Regions from separate parts of the Homo sapiens genome. Here region 2 is linked to region 1. The links are contacts of gene promoters, found by promoter capture Hi-C in human tissues and cell types (Jung and others, 2019). All regions are on one chromosome and are shown on one strand. The core of a region is centred on a gene start or on the middle of the fragment in contact, and the rest is flanking DNA. Distances in the headings are between cores, read along the strand shown.

The links. The method cuts DNA at HindIII sites, captures the fragments that hold promoters and counts their contacts. A contact is called where the count stands out against the background at its distance.
Region 2: a fragment that was not itself captured here is called in contact with the fragment with the promoter of ZNF43 in region 1 in 1 of the 25 tissues and cell types used here (pancreas).

Annotation. Positions count from the first base shown.
Region 1 is chr19:21,832,372-21,838,125 of GRCh38, forward strand. ZNF43 (zinc finger protein 43) reads right to left here and starts at 3,811. Exons shown (of 4, transcript NM_003423.4): 1 at 3,665-3,811. The coding sequence starts at 3,667. RefSeq lists enhancers at 2,902-3,875, 3,405-3,494, 3,535-3,584, 3,605-3,764, 3,876-4,848. The HindIII fragment of the contact is 27,139 bases long and covers 1-5,754 here.
Region 2 is chr19:21,604,944-21,611,155 of GRCh38, forward strand. The region is part of intron 3 of LOC105372323 (a long non-coding RNA gene); the gene reads left to right. Among named protein-coding and RNA genes, the nearest start is that of ZNF429, 100 kb to the left of the region's middle. The HindIII fragment of the contact is 3,721 bases long and covers 1,798-5,518 here.

The sequences.
Region 1 (5,754 bases), core at 2,561-5,060:
ATCAACTCAAAGTGAATTAAAGTCTTAAACTTAAAATGTAAAATTATTTTTAAAAAAACTTTGGAAGGTACCTAGGAAATCATTCTAGACATAAGAACCAGAAGATTTCATGATGGAGATACCAAAAGCAATTGCAACAAAAGGAAAAATTGACAAATGGGACCTAATTAAACTACAGAGCTTCTGCACAGCAAAGAAAACTATGAACAGACTAACTAAACAAGACAACCAGCCAGGCGCAGTGGCTCACTTTAGGAGGCCAAGGCAGGCAGATAACAAGGTCAGGAGTTCGAGACCAGCCGGGCCAATATGGTGAAACCCCATCTCTACCAAAAATACAAAAATTAGCTGGGCGTGGTGGCACACGCCTGTAATCCCAGCTACTCAGGAGGCTGAGGGAGAAGAATTGCTTCAACCTGGGAGATGGAGGGTGCAGTGAGCCGAGATTGTGCCACTGCACTCTAGTGGGGCAACAGAGTGAGACTCCATGTCAATTGAAAAAAAAAAATTATGTGGTAAACAATTAGTCATATGAAAACACTTCTAGGAGGTACCAAGTTTCATCTCATAAAATTTAGCATTAAACTCAGAAATCAAGATGATAGGATATAGAATACAGATAATCACCTCTACAAATTTACCCTGCAAAGAGAGTAACTGATGTTTTTATGAATCTGTGTAACTCACCACTTATATACCACGTTTTCTTATAAAAATGTATTAATTTTGTACAGCCAAATAAAATAGATTTTCCCTATTCTTTTCCTTGGTAGCATTCTAAAAGCTAAGCCTTGGAATTCTGTTGAAAATCACCCAGCCATAAAATAAAAGACACCTGAGAAGATTCCTAAACTCACTCTGGGAAAGAGAAAGGTAAATGATAATTTTTATTTTATTTTATTTATTTATTTTTTAAACAGAGTTTCCCTCTTGTCGCCCAGGCTGAGTACAATGGCGCGACCTCAGCTCACTGCAACCTCGGCCTCCCAGGTTCAAGCGATTCTCCTGCCTCTGCCTCCCGAAGTAGCTGGGATTACAGGCGCCTGCCCCTGCACCCAGCTAATTTTTTTGTATTTTTAGTTGAGACGGGATTTCACCATGTTGGCCAGGCTGGTCTTGAACTCCTGACCTCAGGTGATTCACCCACCTCGGCCTCCCAAAGTGTTGGGATTATAGGCATGAGCCACTACACCCAGGCTGTGACACTGTAGCACACATAGCCATGGTGGTTATCTTGGTTTATCCCTAGACAGTACTGAAACCCAGGATCAGAAAAAAAAAACAAAAACAACAAAATGAAGTGTGGCTGAGGAAAAATCACCCACATTTTTCGAAAGGAAAAACTTGACCTAAAAACATTCTGAAAAAGTCTCTGGCTGGGTGTGGTGGCTCATGCCTATAATCTCAGCACTTTGGGAGGCCGAGGCAGGTGGATCTCCTGAGGTCGGCAGTTTGAGAACAGCGTGACCAACATGGGGAAACCCTGTCTCTACTAAAAATGCAAAATTAGCCAGGCGTGGTAGTGCATCCCTGTAGTCCTAGCTACTCGGGAGGCTGAGTCAGCAGAATCGCTTGAACCCAGGAGGCAGAGGTTGCAGTGAGCTGAGATGGCTCCACTGCAGTCAAGCCTAGGCAACAAGAGCTAAACTCCATCTTAAGGCGGGGCGGGGGAAAAAAAAGAGTCCTGTGCCTAGGGAAAACAAAAAGAAAAAAGAGGCCAGGCATGGTGGCGGAGGCGGGTGGATCATCTGAGGTTAGGAGTTCGAGACCAGCCTGGTCAACATGGAAAAACCTTGTCTCTAACAAAAATACAAAAATTAGCTGGGAATGGTGGTAGGTGCCGGTAGTTCCAGCTACTGGAGTGGCTGAAGCAAAAGAATCACTTGAATCAGGGAGGCAGAGGTTGCAGTGAGCAGAGATCACATCACTGCACTCCAGACTGGGCAGCAAAGCAACACTGTCTCAAAAAAAAAAAAAAAAAAGTAAAGAAAAAAAGAAAAGGAAAAGAGGCACAGAGATTTTTATTTTTTACAAACAGTGTAAGGGGATTATTTTTTGCTTTCTTTTCAATATGGAAAATATTTTCAAATAGAAAACAAAATTTAGGCCGGACTCGGTGGCTCACGCCTGTAATCCTTGCACTTTGGGAGGCCAAGGCGGGTGGATCACAAGGTCAGGAGTTCGAAACCAGCTTGGCCAACAAGGTGAAACCCTGTCTCAACTAAAAATACAAAAAAATTAACCAGGCACGGTGGCAGGTGCCTGTAATTCCAGCTACTCGGGAGGCTGAGGCAGGAGAATCGGTTGAACCCGGGAGGTTGCAATGAGCTGAGATTGCACCATTGCACTCCAGCCTGGGAAACAAAGCGAGAGGAAGGATGGAAGCAAGGATGGAAAGATGGAAGGAAGGAAGGAAGGAAGGAAAGAAAGAAGAAGGAAAGAAGAAAGGAAAATTTATTTAAGTCCATCCAATGATTTTTCAAAAAATAATTAAAATATCTGTATCAAAAATATACAGATATCTAAAATATCTTTATCTAAAACGTATCTCTGTATCTAAAATGTACACTAAAAAAAAAAAAAAAATAGCCCGGCTCGGTGGCTATTTTTAAGTGCTGTAATCCTAGCACTTTGGGAGGCTGAGGCGGGTGGATCATCTGAGCTCAGGAGTTCGAGACCACCTGGCCAATATAGTGAAATCCCGTCTTTACTAAAAATACAAAAAAAATTAGCTGGGTGTGGTGGCAGGCACCTGTAATCCCAGCTACTAAGGAGGCTGAGGCAAGAAAATCGCTTGAATCCGGGAGACGGAGGTTGCAGGGAGCCGAGATAGCACCATTGCACTCCAGCCTGGGCAGCAAAAGCGAAAGTCCATCTCAAAAAAAAAAAAAAAAAGAAAAAAAAGAAAAAATAGTTGATAACGTGAATTGCGGAGAAGAAGGTGGCATTTGGGAATGTCAGAAATAAAGGAAAATCTAGTTTAGTTTTTTTTTTTTTTTTTTTCCAGAGGGAGTTTCACTCTGTGGCCCAGGCTGGAGTGCAATGGCGCGATCTCGGCTCACTGCATCCTCCGCCTCCTGGGTTCAAGCGATTTTCCTGTCTCAGCCTCCCTAGTAGCTGCGATTACAGGCGCGCGCCACCACGCCCAGCTAATTTTTGTATTTTTAGTATAGACGGGGTTCACCATATTAGCCAGGCTGCTCTCGAACTCCTCACCTCGTCATCCACCCACCTCGACCTCCCAAAGTGCTGGGATTAAAGGCGTGACCCACCGCGCCCGGCCGACTCTCCTGTTTCTAATAGACCAAAAGAGGGACTAGAAATGCCACGGACCAAAGCTCTTCCTATTCATGAAACTGCATCACGAGTCAGGATTCTCTCCTGACGACCCTCCTGTGGCCCCTGCACAATTTGGGAGAGACGCCGCGTTGCGGCTGCAGAGCTGCCCACAGAGGGCTGCAGGCCGGGACACAGTCACTGCGCAGAGAAGAGACAGGACGCCCGGGGCTGCCTCCCAGAGCAGCCGCCATCTTATGGCTGAAGGGGATTGAGGCCGAGCTGGGCAAGAACTCCGGCACGCGCAGATTGTGGAGCTGACTGCGGGAAGGCCTGAGTCACGCCACAGCCCCTTCCCCCTCTCGGGATGTCGGACCGGCACTCTCACCATTTCTAGGCTTCCGGGGGGTCCTGGCGTCTTAGCTGTGGATCCCCCAATACCCGCAGGTCACAGAGCCACAGAGGCTGGACCTCTAGCAGCAGAGGACACAGAAGAACGAAGACGAGACGCAGAGCTCCAACTGCAGCCAGAGACAAAGGCCCCGCCACATCCCGGAAGCCGCCCTGTCCTCTCCTGCCCCGTGCCTGATTGGACGGTTTCCAGCCCAGCGTCCCTGATTGGATAACTTCTAAGGTCCTGCCCCCGCAAACCCTGAATGAAAGATGTGATCAGACGCTGGGCTGAAAGAAGAAAGAATGACAGCCTAGGCTGCCGCCTTTTCAGGCAGGGCTTCCTCCCTGAGCAGAGCAGGCCCAACCCAGAGGGTATTTGCCTTTAACCTTGTGTATAAGGTCATCTTCACTTATAAGTAATATACTATATGGATACTAAAAAATGAAAACAATTGTTTTTGAATTTCAGCTTTTATGACCTTCCTGGCTTCTGGCCCTTTGAGTAGGAAGTATTACAAACATTGAATATTTTATTATTTATCCTCTGTGGGGTTTTTCTTATTCTTGAGAGGGAGTCTCTGTTACCCAGGCTGGAGTGCAGGGTCATGACTGCAGCTCACTGCAGCCTCAGCAATCTAGGCTTGAGCAATTTACCTGTCTCAGCCTTCTGAGTAGCTGGGACCACTGGCATGTGGCCCCATGCTCAGCTAATTTGTTATCATATTTTTATTTGTAGAGATGAAGCCTCACTAGATAGCCCAGAATGGTCTCAAACTCTTGGGCTCAATGAATCCTACAAAGTCAGCCTCCCAAAGTACTGGGATTATAGGCATGAACCATCACATTCAGACTGAATTATTTTATCAAAAAATTTTTTTAAAGCATTGAGGTCCATTAATAGAATTCAAGGAAATGTTATGCACATGTTTTAAAAGCAAATTAAAAAGCATATACAAAAAGAGAACATTTTTTAAAAAACTAAATATAGGTAATGTTACCAGAAAAAGTTTAGATCTCCTGACTTTAAGTTGCAGTATGCTAATGGAATATTCTTAGTGGATAGTATTCCATTTTCATAAGAAATTCAAAACAAGATAATTTCCAGGTTTTAGAAACTGATGTAAAACATAAAAATATAGAAAATCTCTAATGTGTTCCCATGATATAGTATTACTTGAAATATAAACTGGGCAAACTCAGCAAAAGACAATTTAATCTCAAATTTCAAAATAGGTACAGAAGTTCTAATGGAATAATAAATGGAATCCAGGATTTTATTCATAAAAAGGCTAAAAAGTGACCATTCTCTGTGATTTTGAAAGTAGGAATTTGTGTAAACAGATGTGTATTTGCATCTACATTTGCCTACACTTACTTTTTTTTTTTTTTTTTTTTTTTTTTTGAGACGGAGTCTTGCTCTGTCGACCAGGCTGGAGTGCAGTGGCACAATCTCGGCTCACTGCAACCTCCGCCTCCCAGGTTCAAGCGATTCTCCTGACTCAGCCTACCAAGTAGCTGGGGATACAGGTGCATGACCCCATGCCCAGCTAATTTTTTTATGATATATTCATTTATTCAGATTACTCGATAATTAAAAATTATATTTTCTATGAATACCAGCTAATTTTTTGTATTTTTAGTAGAGACAGGGTTTCACCCTGTTAGCCAGGATGTCTCCTGACCTGGTGAACTGCTCGCCTTAGCCTCCCAAAGTGCTGGGATTACAGGTGTGAGCCACCATGCCCAGCAGCTTTTAAACATTTTAGGAAAGCATGAGACATCAATCAATATGTATAAGATCTTCCTTCCCTACCTTTTTCCTTCTCCACCTCCTCCTTCCTCTCTCTCTTTCTTGGTTTGATCCAGTAATGCAGGACAACTTGAGGTGAGGGCTTCCAGGTCATAAGTAAATAAGAGATAAAAGTCTGGATTCTTGAGTCCTTGATAAGCATTCAACTGAATACAATTTAGTCTGGCTCAGTGAACCTGCATATCTAAATTAACAGCAGTGCAGAGGAAGCAATCAGATGTGCATTTGTCTCAGGCGAGGCTCAGAGAAATGACTCTGAGTTCTGTCTGTCTTTG
Region 2 (6,212 bases), core at 2,408-4,907, 230 kb before region 1:
CACAAAAGTGCCGAGAAGCACTTCTGCAAAGGCTAAAGGATGGTAAAAGAAAAAGGCAACCAATATAAAACATCTCAGAGGTGCTCCAGGGTGCAGATAAAAGCACCAGCCAGTTTTATGAAAGACTTTGTAAGGCATTTTGGTTGCACACTCCATTTAACCCTGAGGCTGCTGAAAATCAGTGCAAGGTGAATACGGCATTTGTAAGGCAGACCCAAGGAGATATCAGGCATAAATTGCAGAAGTTAGAAGCTCTGTAGGCATGAATGCTACTCAGCTTATTAAAGTGGCTACCAGGGTGTACATTAACGAGATCAGGAGGCAAAGAAGAAAGCTGATCAGAGGCTTAAGAAAGGCTAATTTACTAGCAGCAGCCCTTGTGGGAAGAGAAGCTGGCTTTGCAAAGAGGCATGGACGCAGGCGTGAACACAGTCACGGAAAAGGCTAGTCCGGACAGGAGTTTGAAAGCTGGCCAAGGCTAGAGAGAGATTTATGTGCACGGTGCAAAAGGAAAGGACACTAGAAGGATACACGTCAAAAGAATAAGGAGAATGGGCCGGGCATGGTGGCTGACGCTTGTAATCCCAGCACTTTGGGAGGCCGAGGCAGGTGGATCACGACGTCAGGAGGTCGAGACCATCCTGGCTAACACGGTGAAACCCTGTCTCTACTAAAAATACAAAAAAAAAAAAAAAAAAAAAAAAAAAAAGCCGGGCATGGTGGCAGGCACCTGTAGTCCCAGCTACTCGGGAGGCTGAGGCAGAAGAAAGGCGTGAACCCTGGAGGCGGAGCTTGCAGTGAGCTATCGCGCCACTGCACTCCAGCCTGGGTGACAGAGCAAGACTCCATCTCAAAAACATAAAAAGAATAAGGAGAATTGTCAAGGCCATGGTATGAAAAAAAAAAACCACCGGCCAAGGGCTACTGCACCCAGGAAAAACCCAAGACCCCCTGCACCTGCTGTGAAAGGCAGGATATAAAGTATCAGAAAACAGCTCAAATCTGCTCTAAAAGTGTCCAGTATTTAAGCTTTTATATAAACCAAGAGGAAAGATGGCTTAGTAGTAAACAAAAGCAGGCTGTTTGTGTACTTCCTACTCCAACAACCTGGTGTCAAATAAGAGAGTTCCTAAGGGCAGCAAGGTTCTGCCACATTTAGATCCCAAATTTCTTGCTCATGGCTAAGCCATTATACAAAGCCACAAAGAGGAGGAAAGAAAGAGCCTCTCCTCTAGGAGGCCAACCAGGAGAAGGCTTTTATTTATTTATTTTTTTTTGAAGCCACTCCACAAGTCACTCTATATTGCAAATTATACATAATAGTACACCTAATCAATATATAAATGTTATGGGTTAAACATCTACAACAAACAAAATAACATTTAACATCAAGAGAAAAGAAATGGGAAAAAAAGGTTAATGAACCAGTCCATGAAGAGCAACAGAGACAAAAAGAATCTCCTGGTCTGGGCCAGGCAGTCCAGTGGTCTTGCAAGGAACACCTTTGATGTGGGTAGAGCCTTTCGTGGCAGATGCCAGAGCCTTTCATGGCAGATGCCATGGAGCTTATCTTTTTTTTTTTTTTTTTTTTAAATTGATCATTCTTGGGTGTTTCTCGCAGAGGGGGATTTGGCAGGGTCATAGGACAATAGTGGAGGGAAGGCCAGCAGATAAACAAGTGAACAAAGGTCTCTGGTTTTCCTAGGCAGAGGACCCTGCGGCCTTCCGCAGTGTTTGTGTCCCTGGGTACTTGAGATTAGGGAGTGGTGATGACTCTTAACGAGCATGCTGCCTTCAAGCATCTGTTTAACAAAGCACATCTTGCACCACCCTTAATCCATTTAACCCTGAGTGGACACAGCACATGTTTCAGAGAGCACAGGGTTAGGGGTAAGGTCATAGATCAACAGCATCCCAAGGCAGAAGAATTTTTCTTAGTACAGAACAAAATGAAAAGTCTCCCATGTCTACTACTTTCTACACAGACACAGCAACCATCCGATTTCTCAATCTTTTCCCCACCTTTCCCCCTTTTCTATTCCACAAAACCGCCATTGTCATCATGGCCCGTTCTCAATGAGCTGTTGGGTACACCTCCCAGACGGGGTGGTGGCCGGGCAGAGGGGCTCCTCACTTCCCAGTAGAGGCGGCCGGGCAGAGGCACCCCCCACCTACCAGACGGGGCGGCTGGCCGGGCGGGGGCTGACCCCCCACCTCCCTCCCAGATGGGGCGGCTGGCCGGGCGGGGGGCTGACCCCTACCTCCCTCCCGGATGGGGTGGCTGCCGGGCGGAGACGCTCCTCACTTCCCAGACCGGGCGGCTGCCAGGCGGAGGGGCTCCTCACCTCTCAGACGGGGCGGCTGCCGGGCGGAGGGGCTCCTCACTTCTCAGACGGGGCGGCCGGGCAGAGACGCTCCTCACCTCCCAGACGGGGCGGCGGGGCAGAGGCGCTCCCCACATCTCAGACGATGGGGGGCCGGGCAGAGACGCTCCTCACTTCCTAGATGGGATGGCGGCCGGGCAGAGACGCTCCCAGGAGAAGGGGTTTAAAGAAATCAAAAAAGCTTGACTCAGGCCCCAGCTTTAGGACTGCCGGATAAACTAACTAAGCCTATCTTCTTGTATGTCCACAAGTGAAAGGGAGGCCATAAGGGTTCTAACTCAAGCCATAAGTTTATGGCATCACCCAGTGACATACTTATCCAGGCAATTAGACTTTGTGGCACTTGGATGGCCTCTTTGTTTTAAAGCTATTAAAGCACTAGCTGCCACTGCCCTACTGGTGCAAGAAGCTAATAAACTGACTTTAGAGACTGTGAATAGCCTAAACCTGGCTACATTGCTCCTCATCAAGTCAGTGCCAGGAGACCCCTTTCATTTCTGTGTCAACATGATAGATGAAGTTTTCTCAAGCCAGAGAGATTTGATAGCCCCTCAGGGAAACTGGACATTAAATATTTTACTGATGGAAGCAGTTTCATACTAAAGTTTTATGAAAGACTTTGTAAGGCATTTTGATTGTGCACTCCATTTAACCCTGAGGCTGCTGAAAATCAGTGATTTTCACTAAAATCACTAAAGGGAGTCTGCCGAGCTGGGTATGCAGTGGTGACTTTGGACTCAGTAGTAGAGGTGCAGTCTCTGCCTACAGAAACTTCTGCTTAGAAAGCAGAGCTAATATCTCTGACAAGAGCTCTCTGGCTAGCAAAAGACCAAAAGACAAATATTTACACAGATTCCAAATATGCTTCTGCCACTTTGCATGTTCATGAGGTGATTTACAAAGAAAAAAGACTTTTAACTGCTGAAAGTAAAGAAATAAAGTACAAGGAAGAAATTCTACAGCTCTTAAATGCTGTATAGGACCCAAAAGAGGTGGCAGTGATGCACTGCAAGGGGAACCAAAAAAGGAAGAACACTAAAGGCTAAAAAAATAAAAATAAAAAAGCAGACAAAGAGGCAAAGCAGGCTGCAATGACAACTCCACCTTCTAAAGAGGAAGTCTTAGCTATGCTTCTCTTCCCAGAGATTCCCCTCCCGGAGATCCCAAGCTATGCTCCAAGTGAAAGGGCTTGTTTTGCCCAGAAAAATAAGAACTACACTAAAGGAAGATGGTAAAAATTCTCCAGTGGGAGGCTAGCCATACCAGAAATGGTGACCTCCAGATTTGTAAAACAATTCCACCAAAGAACTCACATAAAAAAAAAAAAACAGCACTAAAGACATTATTAAGGCATCATTTCTATGCACCATGGCTCACTGCTATTACTCAAGCCATTTGTAAACAAACAGTGTTTAACTTGCACTCAGAACAATCCATGACAAGGAGGGCCTACTCCGCCCCTGGGAGTTCAGGAAACAGGAGCCAGGGAGCCGTGCCCTGTGAAAAACTGCTTATAGACTTCACCTAATTGCCCTGAGAGGGAGGGCTATCAGTACATGTTGGTGTTCATTTGCACCTTTTCAGGATAAGTCAAGGCCTTCCTCACCCAGACAGGGAAGGCACTAGAGGTGACCAAGGTGTTGTTAAAAGACATTATTCCCAGATTTGGACTGTCTCTAACTCTAAGATCAAACAATGGACCAACATTTGTGGCTGAAATAGTTCAGGACTTTACTTGACTATTAAAATAAAGTGGAAATTACATACAGCCTACAGGCCGCAGAGCTCAGGTAAAGTGGAGTGCATAAACCAGACACTCAAACAGCTGCTGAAGAAATTTTGTCAAACTCATCAAAAGTAGGATCAGGTCTTGTCTGTTGTCCTCCTCCGAGTCAGGTGCACTCCCACCAAACAACTGGGTATTCGCCCTGTAAGATTTTATTCAGCCAGCCACCCCCCATCATAAGTCAGATTAAAGGTAATCTCTGTAAACTAGAAGAACTAACTTTAAGAAGGCAAATTCAGGCTTTAAGTATGGCCATGCAAAAATGCATGGCTAGGTATAGAAAAAAAATGCCTATAAGTCAAACAGACCCAGTACACCCTTTCAAACCTAAGGATTTTGTTTAAGTTAAAAAATGGAGGCAGGGTGTGGTGGCTCACGCCTGTAATCCAAGCATTTTGGGAGGCCAAGGCAGGTGGATCACATGGTCAGGAGATCGAGACCATCCTGGCTAACACGGTGAAAACCCATCTCTACTAAAAATACAAAAAATTAGCCCGGCATGATGGCGGGCCCCTGTAGTCCCAGCTACTCAGGAGTCTGAGGCAGGAGAATGGCGTGAACCCAGGAGGTGGAGCTTGCAGTGAGCTGAGATTGCGCCACTGCACTCCAGCCTCGGCGACAGAGCGAGACTCCATCTCAAAAAAAAAAAAAAAGGAAAAAAAATGGAATCCAACCACACTAGGACCCATATAGGATAGGCCCCATATCGTGATCATGCCTAGTCCCACTGCTGTTAAAGTTGCACGTTTCACACCTTGGATTCACCATAGTCGGCTGAAACCAGTGGCAGCAGTGACTCCCAACGACGAACAGTGGATTAGCCAACAAGACCCAGATTGCCCCACCCGAATAGTCCCATGGTGAAACCCAACCACCGGTAAGAAGGACAACTGCCCTGCTCTGACCACACTGGAGGCTGGTCAGTCTATGCACGGCTGAAGCTTGAGGATCCTGTAAGCTCTGCTCTAGTCACATCCTGGAAGCTGACTAGTCTACGCACAGCCAAAGCTAAGGGGACAATCTCCGGATAAGTAAATGTGGATACAATTTATAAGCCTAGTTATAATTCTGTCAATACTGATTGTTCTGTTGTTATGTTATTACTGCAAATACTGCAAACGTCTATGCCCAGAGGAAGGTTTGCCATGCCCATGTGTAGTGTAAGCATGTTTCTATTACATACACTGACGTTGTTACCATTTCTGCCTATACTAGAAGGGGAGAAATCCCTAGAAGAATGCCCACACTGTGTACACACTACCTGGATAAGGAATACCCTAGTTAAACCTCTACTGTACGTTACTGACTATGAATGTACAGGAACAAAGTTAGGAACCTGCACATACAACCGGAAACAGTCTGCAATAGTTTAACACAAGAGAGACTTAGCAGCAACAGTCCTAAACATCTGTACAGAAAACCACAAATCAGATGTCGAGACTGAACATTCAGTGGTCTATGCTAACACAGCTCCAACACTTACATTCAGGAAGGACTGCTCTGCTAATTAGTATGTCAACCAAACCAGATTGTAAGACAAGAACATACAATCCTTTAAATTTTACTATCTTAAAGCCAGAGCTACCTTCTTGGTCTACAGGACAGATGACACTATTATGAGTTGATAGACAAGGAGCAGAACTTGGAGTTCCACTACTAATTGTCAAAAAGACTAGAAGGACTCAAATGTATCCAACCCCACAATTCCAGGTCCATAAGTCATTCTATAAGCATTTTGATCAGTCAATGCTGAAGCTTCCCCCCATCAACCAAAAACTTATTTGCTCAACTAGCTGAAAACATAGCTGGCAGCTTAGGAATTTCCTCATGCTATGTATGTAGAAGAACTAATATGGAAGACCAGTGGCCATGGGAGGCAAAGGAATTAATGCCACAAGATCCCTTCACTTAACACTGCCAGTGAACCAACAGCCTCAGCCAGTGTTTGGTTGTCAACTACCTCCATAATTGGAAAGTACTGTATCACCCGATGAGGAAAGGCTTTCACAGAGGCAGTGTGAGAAACAACCTGCCTAGGGCAA